Regions from separate parts of the Homo sapiens genome. Here regions 1 and 3 are each linked to region 2. The links are contacts of gene promoters, found by promoter capture Hi-C in blood cells and fetal thymus (Javierre and others, 2016). All regions are on one chromosome and are shown on one strand. Each heading gives the region's core, a stretch centred on a gene start or on the middle of the fragment in contact. The rest is flanking DNA. Distances are from core to core; before and after follow the strand shown. Region 1 overlaps KIF6 (kinesin family member 6). Region 2 holds the start of DAAM2 (dishevelled associated activator of morphogenesis 2). Region 3 overlaps KIF6 (kinesin family member 6).

The links. The method cuts DNA at HindIII sites, captures the fragments that hold promoters and counts their contacts. A CHiCAGO score of 5 or more calls a contact.
Region 1: a fragment that was not itself captured here is called in contact with the fragment with the promoter of DAAM2 in region 2 in 1 of 17 cell types (endothelial precursors); the score reaches 5.0 in endothelial precursors.
Region 3: a contact is called between a fragment that was not itself captured here and the fragment with the promoter of DAAM2 in region 2, in 1 of 17 cell types (endothelial precursors). The highest score is 5.8, in endothelial precursors.

The regions. Positions count from the first base shown.
Region 1 is chr6:39,386,794-39,389,884 of GRCh38, forward strand. The region is part of intron 15 of KIF6 (kinesin family member 6); the gene reads right to left. It overlaps LOC107986594 (a long non-coding RNA gene), which reads left to right. Exons shown (of 4, transcript XR_001744111.2): 4 at 1,516-2,647. Among named protein-coding and RNA genes, the nearest start is that of KCNK16, 66 kb to the left of the region's middle. The HindIII fragment of the contact is 646 bases long and covers 1,119-1,764 here.
Region 2 is chr6:39,790,362-39,793,744 of GRCh38, forward strand. DAAM2 (dishevelled associated activator of morphogenesis 2) reads left to right here and starts at 2,015. Exons shown (of 25, transcript NM_001201427.2): 1 at 2,015-2,104. The HindIII fragment of the contact is 9,754 bases long and covers 1-3,383 here.
Region 3 is chr6:39,364,433-39,367,621 of GRCh38, forward strand. The region is part of intron 16 of KIF6 (kinesin family member 6); the gene reads right to left. It overlaps LOC107986594 (a long non-coding RNA gene), which reads left to right. Exons shown (of 4, transcript XR_001744111.2): 3 at 1,302-1,482. Among named protein-coding and RNA genes, the nearest start is that of KCNK16, 43 kb to the left of the region's middle. The HindIII fragment of the contact is 2,633 bases long and covers 506-3,138 here.

The DNA.
Region 1 (3,091 bases), core at 192-2,691, 400 kb before region 2:
AAGGGCTCAGCACACTTGTTAAAATGTCAGTGCTGTCTGTATGGCATGTCCCATTTGGGGGATGTGATCAGGCCACTGGGGGATTCCAAGAAAGCCTGGAAAATTCATTGCTTCCTTGTTTAAGATATTTCTTTCCTCACATAAGTACATTCTATACCTCCAAGGCTATAGCTGAATTGAGTATTCAAAAGATGAGTAGATGAGGAAGCAGTCACAAGAGACTTTATCATTTATGGAGAGTTTTAGGGCACCTCTAGAATGTTATAATTGGGAGAGATGGCAGAGGTCATTCAGTTCAACTTTGCAGTCAATTTAGGAATCCCTTCTACAGAAGGAAATGGGCATTTCCCTTCTGACTTGTATGTATTCGAGCTATTCCATTAAGTTATATGTAAGGAATTAATTATGTGGAGTTGCATCTGCTTCCCTATAATCTTCAGCTATGTGCCTGGCCTGTTTTCTGGATCAGCACAGAAAAAGATCCTCTGTCATTGGCATAGGATCTTCACATATCTGAGGATGCTATGATTGATTTCTCTACTTCGACTTGCCCTTTATGGAGGTCAAACATCACCAGTCCTTAGGTAATACCTCGGAGGCCACTATCTCCAGACACATCATTGTCTTGGGAAAGGGTCTGGGGCACCTGCATGTCTGTGCCTTGGTTTCCATGTGTCCCTACTGGAGAGAATTATGCATAGAGAGCGTGGCAGGCATTGGGACTAAACAATAATTGCACCCTTATTCCATGTGGGGGAAGGGTGGGAACTTCAGGAGTGTGCTGAGGGGGATTTGGGGAAGTGGAAACTTGACCCAATGATGAGTATTGGTGAACCTGGATCCAACAGGAAAATGACTTGACACCTGAGCCAGCCACAGCCCCAAATGGATCTTTTCCCTACTCAGTGCAATTTGACCCTTATTGTCCATATAAGCAGAGTAAAGAAGTTGGGGACATAAGGCTGCTGCTGGACTGAGACTCTAGGCTGCATCAAACACTGCTGAATTAAATTTTAAGATGGGATAGCACATGCATGCTCCAAATAAAAGGAGATATTGCTGTGACAAATGCAACACACCATTTAGAAACATCTCTTGATTTAGAGTGAGTCATCAAAAGCTTTTTAATCCTGCAGTATGGAGAGTCAGTGGTGCTTTGGTGCCCTGCCTGTTTCCTGGGTATCCGGCACAGCCTTATACCACGAGCCTCTCATATGACTGGGTACTGCCTTCCTAATGAGCCTGGACAGTGGCTTGCTCCTTTAGAGCACACACTGGTTTGCACTGCTTCCTGGAAACTACCTCCCTGCTAATAAGCCTTCCCAGTAATAAGCCTCCCTGACAATGCGCCTCCTGACACATGCTTCCTCAAGTCTGTGCCTCCAAACCCCATGCCTTGACCAGAGTAGGTGTGCTCAACCTGGTATGTTACAATTTCTTCAGCGCCTATTGGAACGACCAAGTTCCTTTTTCCCAAACCCTAAGGAAGTATTTTTTTTTTTTTGGAATGACCAGGTTTAAGGATTCTCCACTGCCCCTGGTTTGGGAGGAGCTGCTCACGTAAATAAAGAGGGGATTTTGCCACCACAAGCATAAATACTCACTCTCAGAACAACGAGGCACCACCAGGGAACAAAAGGTGGGTCTTTATAATGTTACATATTGATAAAGGTTGTTTTACAATGCCGCTAGTGATACTCAGTTTTGGTGAATTGACTAACATCTCCCACCACATGGCAAGTTTTTTTTTATTTCCCCCAAACAAGCTTCCAAAAATAGCCTTATGGCTGATACCTAATTGCATTTCTAACAGAGCTATTCTTCATGTGCAGATAACAGTCTCTGTAACCTGCTGGATCTTGCAGCTTTATGGGTTTTGGCAAAAAAAGGAGTTGAGGGGGATTGCAGAATTCACTCAGCATGCAGCTTGCTGTCATTACCACGGTGATAAATTTGCTGGTTTTGGCCTGGGTTCCTGGACACATCCCCATCCAGAGGTATGGAAAAGAGATGAAATGGAAACAGAGAACTCCCAGCCTGAGGCCGGAGACAGTCTGGGAGGGAAGTAGGGAGCCCAGAATGGGGCTGAAAACCAAAAGGGTAGGGGAGGGAAGGAATGCTCTGCCTGCAGGAGTGTCCATAATTAGTAATTTTTCCTTCAGTAATTTACCACAGTACATGCTAGAAACACCTTCTCTCCCTTTTGATACATTAATTGATGGATTGTGGGTGGCAGCGGGGAGCAGAGCTTACAGCAATCCACGGGAAAGCTCCAGAGGAGACGGGTGACCTTAAATATGACCGCGAGCAGGGTATGTGGAGGTGGTGCTCTGTGTGGTATATGGGTTTTCTCTGTTACTGAGTAGTTCTAGGGAAAGTATTATCATCATGCAGAAGTGAAACTGATTTTTTTACATCAGTATTCAGTCTTCTGAATAAAACCATTTTCCATAAGCTTCACACTCTATTTTGCACGCATGCTAGTTTGAGATTATTCACGTGAACGCTGCTTGGCTGGCCTGGAGGAGAGCTATTCACTTACGACTCCCTGAGTGGCTGTCTGCTGCTCCTGCAATTTCTGGGATGCTGTGCCTCATTCAACATGTTTATGTTGCTATCAAACAATAAATACTTATCTCTCATCTACTATCGGTTAAGCACTATGTTCTAAGTGCTGTGGAATATACACACTCGTAGAAGGCTCTATCCTAACCTAGGAAAGTCAGTGCAGTACAGGGATCAGCAAATAGGTGGCCCGTGTGCTCTTTCTTTTAAGTGCTGGACCAACGGCTGGCCTTGCTCCTCCATCAGGGATGGTTTGCTTTCCTGCTGAGCCTGAGTTTGGCTCTTCCACACAGCACTCTGGGCAGCTATAGCCCATCACTTGAAGTTGGACTTGAGATGAAGCAAACCTCTTTGCTATTTCAGTTATTCTAGAAAATAATTACAAATCTGGGCCAGGCATGGTGGTTCATGCCTGTAATCCCAGCACTTTGGGAGGCCAAGGTGGGTGGATCACCTGAGGTCAGGAGTTTAAGACTAGTCTGGCCAACATGGCAAAACTCCATCTCTACTAAAAATACAAAAATTA
Region 2 (3,383 bases), core at 765-3,264:
GCCTCCTAGGTTCACGCCATTCTCCTGCCTCAGCCTCCGAAGTAGCTGGGACTACAGGCGCCCACCACCACGCCTGGCTAATTTTTTGTATTTTTTAGTGGAGACGGGGTTTAACCGTGTTAGCCAGGATGGTCTCGATCTCCTGACCTCGTGGTCCGCCCGCCTCGGTCTCCCAAAGTGCTGGGAATACAGGCGTGAGCCACCGCGCCTGGCCAAATCTGATCTTCTCTTAAAGAGAGTTTGTGGAAGGCATCCTCTGTCTTCTGTATTACAATCTCACTGGTCAGAACTTGGTCTCATAGCAATTGTGAGCTACCAGGGAGTCTGGGATGGTGAATATTGTAGATTTCTAACTTCTTTAGTTGAGAAAGGCAAGGGAGAATGGGTTTGTCAATGGCTTCTGGAAACCTATTTGCAGGGTCTGCTGAAGAACAGAGCTCACCTTGCCAGTGGAGCCTTGATATGAGAGAGGGAATGGAAGGAGGTAAAAGTGGGGTATTATGCCAGGGAGAGCAATCCCACAGTGACCAAACAGCAGCTCCCTGCTGCAGGGCCCTCGGTGGCTTGGGTCAAAACAGCGTGGCCTCTACCGAGAGGCCCAGCCCTAAGACAGCTCCTTCTGGCAATCAGCTCTAACCAGCTGCTGCCAAAGAGGTAAACACATTCCAAGTCCTTGAGTCCCTGCTGCACTGTAACTGTGGTTAAAACACAACCCCGCCTCTACCAGTTTGGGCTAATGGAAAGTTCACTATAGTTGTGTTTTAATGATGATTTGCAATTATCCGTGCCCCCTCCCATTCATGGTGAGATGAATACCTAAACACTTATGTTGTCTAACCATATAAGTATTTTGCATCTCACGTGTATCATTTTAAGTTCATTTCATTCTCCAATCCTTGGGAACCATGAAGGATAACACATTACATTCTCTTTTTTTTTTTTTTTTCCTCTGGAAGATCATGCATTACATTCTCTTTTTTTCTCTGGAAGGGTGGCCCTTAAACCAAGCCATTTCCCTAAGCCCCTTTGGTGAGGTGGAGAAACAGACAACCACTAACACAGAACAACCACTGAACACCCAGAAAACTGTATACAGGTCATCACCCAGTGGGGGCACCATTTGCTTGCAGAGGGAGCTGGGGAAAATAGGAAACAGAGAAGATCAAATACTCCCCGTGAGGGTGTTGCCAATCCCAGAGAGGACAATTGCTCTTGACCAAAGCAATCTCTAGTTCAGTCAAGGAGACAGACCACAATCACATTTAAAAAAAAAAGAAAAAAAAAAACTAAAAGGAAATTTTAAAAGTATGAATAAGAGCTATTGTAAACTGCTCAAACTATGCATACAAGCAATGAAGTAAGATGAATTGACTGGCACTGAATTGGAAAAGCTATACAGAGGCAGGGAGTGTGGAACATAATTTAATAAAAATAAACTTAAAAAAATATATATACACTCCCAAAAAAGAAATGGAAAAGTTGTTAGGGCGTGGACCAGGACTCCTAATTAGCTGTTCTGTTGTGCCTGATTTCGCTCCTGTCTTGCCCAGCACCCCTTGGGACACACTGTCCAGTGCAGGGACACTTTGGGGAGGGACAGGGGATTCCTTGGCACCGGGACCTTCACCTCCGAGCCGGCCTCAGACCAGGCCATTTGCCCGTAGCCCAGAGGAGGAGCCGGGGAGAAACCCGCTGCCCAGGTGGCCACTTTTGCCTCTTTGACCCTTCCATGTTTCCAAAACAGAAGGGGCCCTGAGAACGCTCCCTGCCAAAGTGGGGAACAGCTACCCTCATTGTACGCCTCGCCCTGCCGGTGGCGCTCTCCCCCCGCCTGCGTTCGGTCTGAAAGTGTGAAAATTACAAATCCCAAGAAACTGCAATCAGAAGTCTACCTAGGGAAAATTCAGAGTAACCTTGCCATAAATATCCCGCTCCAAGACGCCTGACGTCAGAGCGGGGCGGGCGGACGGGCGCGAGGCCGGGCCTGGAGGGGCGGCAGCCGCGGCTTCCCGGGGATAGCGCGGAGCACGCAGCAGCGAGCGGAGCGCGGGCGGCGGCGCCGTACCTCGGGCTGCGGGAGCGCGGGCGCCCTGGGGTCCTCGGAGTAAGTGCGGCCGGCCCTGGCGCTCCCCGTCTTGGGGCCCGGGCCGCGGGGAGCCCTCTCCGCTGGGCTCCCACACTTCTCTCCCTCTGCTTTCTTTAGCATGCCCCGCGGGGCTTGGGGAGGCAGCAGCTCCGCAGGCTGGCGGTTTTGTTTCTCCAAAGTGTTTGCAGGAGCCGCCGACCCCGGAGTGGGCTCCCAGGGCCTGTGTGTGTGTGAGTTGTGTGTGTGTATGAGTGTGATTGCGTGTGTCTGTACTGGCACATCTGGACATAGGAAATGTCTTTGGAAAACTTTTTAAAAATGTTTTTTGCGGCTTTGAAACCTGACCCCTGGTTGTCACAAGTGGACAAACACAGAAGATACCCCGCAAAACTGACAACTTTTTGGTGGTGGCTTTTCCGGGTTCGGCTTGAACCTTCACTTGGCTGGGCTGAAGTCTTCACAAGCCCCCAGCTCCCACTTGCAGGCCTGGCCTCTGGCCAGTGGGCAGGGCAGCCGTAAGGTTCTTGTTCTCAGTGGCAGTGGGACCCTGGGCGGGGGAAGGAGCATCTCAGGAAAGGGGTCCCCGGACTCTGGGGCTCTCAGCACCTGCGGTCGCAAACCAACCTCATGCCCTGACTTTACCAGGCGTCGGGACTCTGACTTAACCGGGGAATGAGGGACTTGGTCTGGCGGCAGGTAATTTTGTGAAGAGGATGAGAAGGAAGAGGGGGAGGTGGTGGTGATGGCCAGGACGCTGTGGCCCTGTGTCCAGCCGTAGCTTGGGAGTGGGATGGTTGGTTCTGCCACATGGCCACGGTGAGGTACGTGCCAGGTTCTCCAGGAGTGCCGCGTGTGGTGCCCCAAACAAGATGCAAGCTCCTAACATAAAGAGACGTGTCTGAGCTGTGGGGTGGAGGAAGGGGGGCGGTGGGGGAGAGGGAGATTTTTATCAAAATTGAACACAGATTGCTGAGATCTGGGCTTGATTTAACTCTTCTCTCTCTGCCTCGGCCACTTCTCCACAGTTTTGGAGTGGATTTGGAACGTTTCTCGGAGGGTTAGAGGAAAATCACACCTCTCCGGAAAAGAGTCCCCATAGGTTTTCCCTTGATGCCCACGTGGGAATGAAAGCAGCTTCCCATCTTTAAAAAGTTCAAAGTCTTGTGTTTTCCCCCTTCTGAGTTTGGTGTTAGTTTCCTGAGTTTCTTTGCAAAGCCAGCTGAAGCGGGGGATGGATTTTCCCTAGGGCCTAGGGCGGAAAGTGTGCTCCACGGAGAGTAGGGGAAAAAAGCAGCAG
Region 3 (3,189 bases), core at 572-3,071, 430 kb before region 2:
AGACTGACTCCTGCTCAATCCCTCACCTGAAGTCTCAGTGACCTGGTTACTTTCCCATTTATCTTAAGTGTGAAGGCTAGGTCTTGACATAATACTTCCATGGGTCTGAAAGGTATAGAGTAGAGTAGGGCTCCTCTTACCTTTTAAAAATTTAAGCTCTATATTTTTGTAGTAGGTGAATTACTAACAATGACCATTTACTGGGGACTTTCTATGTTCTAAGTTCTGCCAAATTCTACTAGGCACTGGGCTAGGTCCTCCATGTACCCTATTGCTAATTCTCAAAATAACCCTTCAAGGATGGCATTGCCATCTTCTTTCAGCTAGATTCTTGGTCTCAGAGAGGGCCATGGATAACTCAAGGTTACATAGCTACTAAATAGCAGAGCTGGGATGTGAACCCATTTGTTTTTTTCTGATTCCAAGGAGCTAAATGTTTCTACCAGACAGCCTCCCCAACACTGCTTATGATTTTTAGCAGCTCTGTCGTGGTTGGCCCCTATTAAGCTTGTGGTCAGTTTTAAAACTTGCATTTTTTAAAAATAAGTGATTGTTAAAATGCGTCCTGTTTCAGTGTGATTGTCCTTTTGATCCCAAAGGCAACACTTCACATTTATTGGCAGCCTAGTCTGCTGAGAGGTCCTTATTCTGTCACGCCATTATTCTTCCCCTTTGACTCCCTTACCCATTTGTTACCTGTGTCTTTTGTGTCATTAGCTTACTGATAACTATGCTAACTGGATCACGATTCTGTCTGTCATCTTCCAGGTGCCATTGACCCCCCTTTTCCTTATGTCAATTGCCAACTTTAAATCGACAGGCAGAGCAAGTGTCTTATTTCATTATCTAAACACAGGACATGCAGATACCATCAACATCCCACCTGAAGTCCACACTGTCATCTGTGTTGGTGCAATTTATTGGCTCAGATGAGGCAGCCCGCCTGTCCACATCACCCACAGCCCCCCAAGTCTCAGGCACAGGAAGCCCTCAAGGGCAGAGATTGGGGTCCTCCTGCTCTTAGTGTCTTCCCCCAGTGCTGTGTTCAGACTCCATGAGTCACTCCATGAGGGTGACTCAGTGCCTCGCATGTTTGCTGGCCTTGCCTTCTTTGAAAGTCATCAGACATGATAAACTGAAGGAAGTATCTTAATATGAAACCGACAATGGTAGGACTTTCAATGGACAAACAATTCCTTTTTAAAAAGTTTCAGAAATGGGCCCAGGTATCTTCCAGCCTGCTAAAAAAGTAACACTGTGAATTTCCTTCCTCCTTTTAACACTTTTGTCCCCACCCCAAGGACACCCCCAAGAAATTCAGTGAAGCCCCACTCTGCGGTGACTGGCTAGACGTCCTGCTGCAAGCCCAGTACGTGAGAGACTGCTGGAGGCGGGCGGAGGAAGGGCTGCTGGACTCACACAGGGCCATCTCACCCGGCCAGAAGAGGCAGTCTCCAGGCCTTGGTGAACAGACAGCAGAAGGTAGGGGGGACGGCCAGGGCGGCCTGCTTTTCCATTTAAAGGCTGCGGTCACCCCATGTGAACGCAGAGCCCCTCTGTAGGAGGCAGGCTCTTGCCTCAGCCCATGACTGGTTGTCTTTTCCTTGGGCATCTTGCAGGTTCCCTGGCAGGTCACAGAGTCTCAGGTGCCCTGGAAGTGTGTGGGGTGCTCGGGAGCCTTAGGCAAGGAGCACATTCTGAATGCAGCTGACACAAGCACAGAATGATAACATCAACGCCATCTGGGGAGTCGCTTGAGCCCATTCCCTGCGCAACACCACTTTCATTCTCACCACCTCAGCTGGCAGACATGATCACCTCTGCTTCACAATCAGGAAGACCAAGGCTTAGGGTGACTGGGTGGCTTGTGCGATGCCACAAAGCTACCAAATAGCAGCGCCAGGCTTTGGATCCAAGTCTAGTCACTCATCCGCTTATTTAACAAATGTTTATCGAGCATTGACTATGTGCCTGCCCCTGTTCTAGGGGGATTCCAGTGGGGAAGACAGACACTAAAACCACAAACAATTGAGTCTGCAACATCATGCTGGGGATCGGAAGGTGCTATGAGGAAAGACAAAGCTGGGTAAAAAGACAGGATGACAGGGTGGAAGACTGCCATGCTAGGTAGGGTGGGTGAGGGCCTCTAAGTGGGGGGACATTTGAGCAGTGACCTGAATGGAGGAAGGGAACAGGCATGCAGAAATCGGGGCACAGAATGTGCAACAGTAAGTGCAAAAGGCCTGAGGTGTGAGCCTGCTTGCTGCATCTAACAACAATGAGAAGGCCAGGAGCGGTTGGGAAGGGAAATCGTGGTGGGAGCTGAAGTCAGTGAAGAAACTGAGGCCAGACCCTGGAGGATCTTGGGAGCCATGGTAAGGACACTGGCTTTGAGAGAGATGGGAGTATTTTGAGGAGAGGAATGGGCTCGATCTATTCCTTTGAAAGCTAAGTTGAGCATTTTTTTTTTTTTTGCTGATCAAGACAAAGCTACTCCAAATTGAACAACAGTTAATGTGGAGGTGGCGCCAGGAAGCCGGGAGTCTGTTGAAAGGGTCTGGGAAAGAAAGCTGGGGCAAGGGACCTTGGGAAGCCAGAATGAGGGCACAGCACACTCCACGACACAAACTACCCACGTTGTCATGACAACCAAATGGGCCTGCTGCCCAAGGTGATGTCTGCTTGGTGAAATGCATTGCAGCCTCACCAGGAGACAGCCTCTGGCTGCTTCTGATATGTTCTGAGGCTTGGCTCATCAGTAACCTCTGAAGAGAAATAGGGGCTGGGAACTCAAAGGGAACCAAATAAAAGCCACTGAGCAAGAACAGAAGAAGAGGGAGTAACTACAAAGGGCATTTGAGTTTTGTAGGTCTCCATCCCCACGGGGACTCTGGCCAGGGACAGAGCCTCCCATCACCTGACAGGAGGCACAGGGAGCCCTCCTTTCAAGGACAGGATTCTGGCTGGGACAGCAGCACAGGAGCTCACAGTGCCGAGTGGCCTGCGAGGTCACACTGTTCATCTGTGGGGAGGCAGCTGCCTCCAAAGCAGTACAAAAGCAAGAGAAGGGTTTCACTCAGTGGCTGTAGGTCTGAATGGCACACAGGAAGAAGCCCTGAGCAGTCAAACAGTAACTGAAGCTTCAAGTTGGGAGGACGCACAGACGCACAGTCCCAGGCTGACCTTATC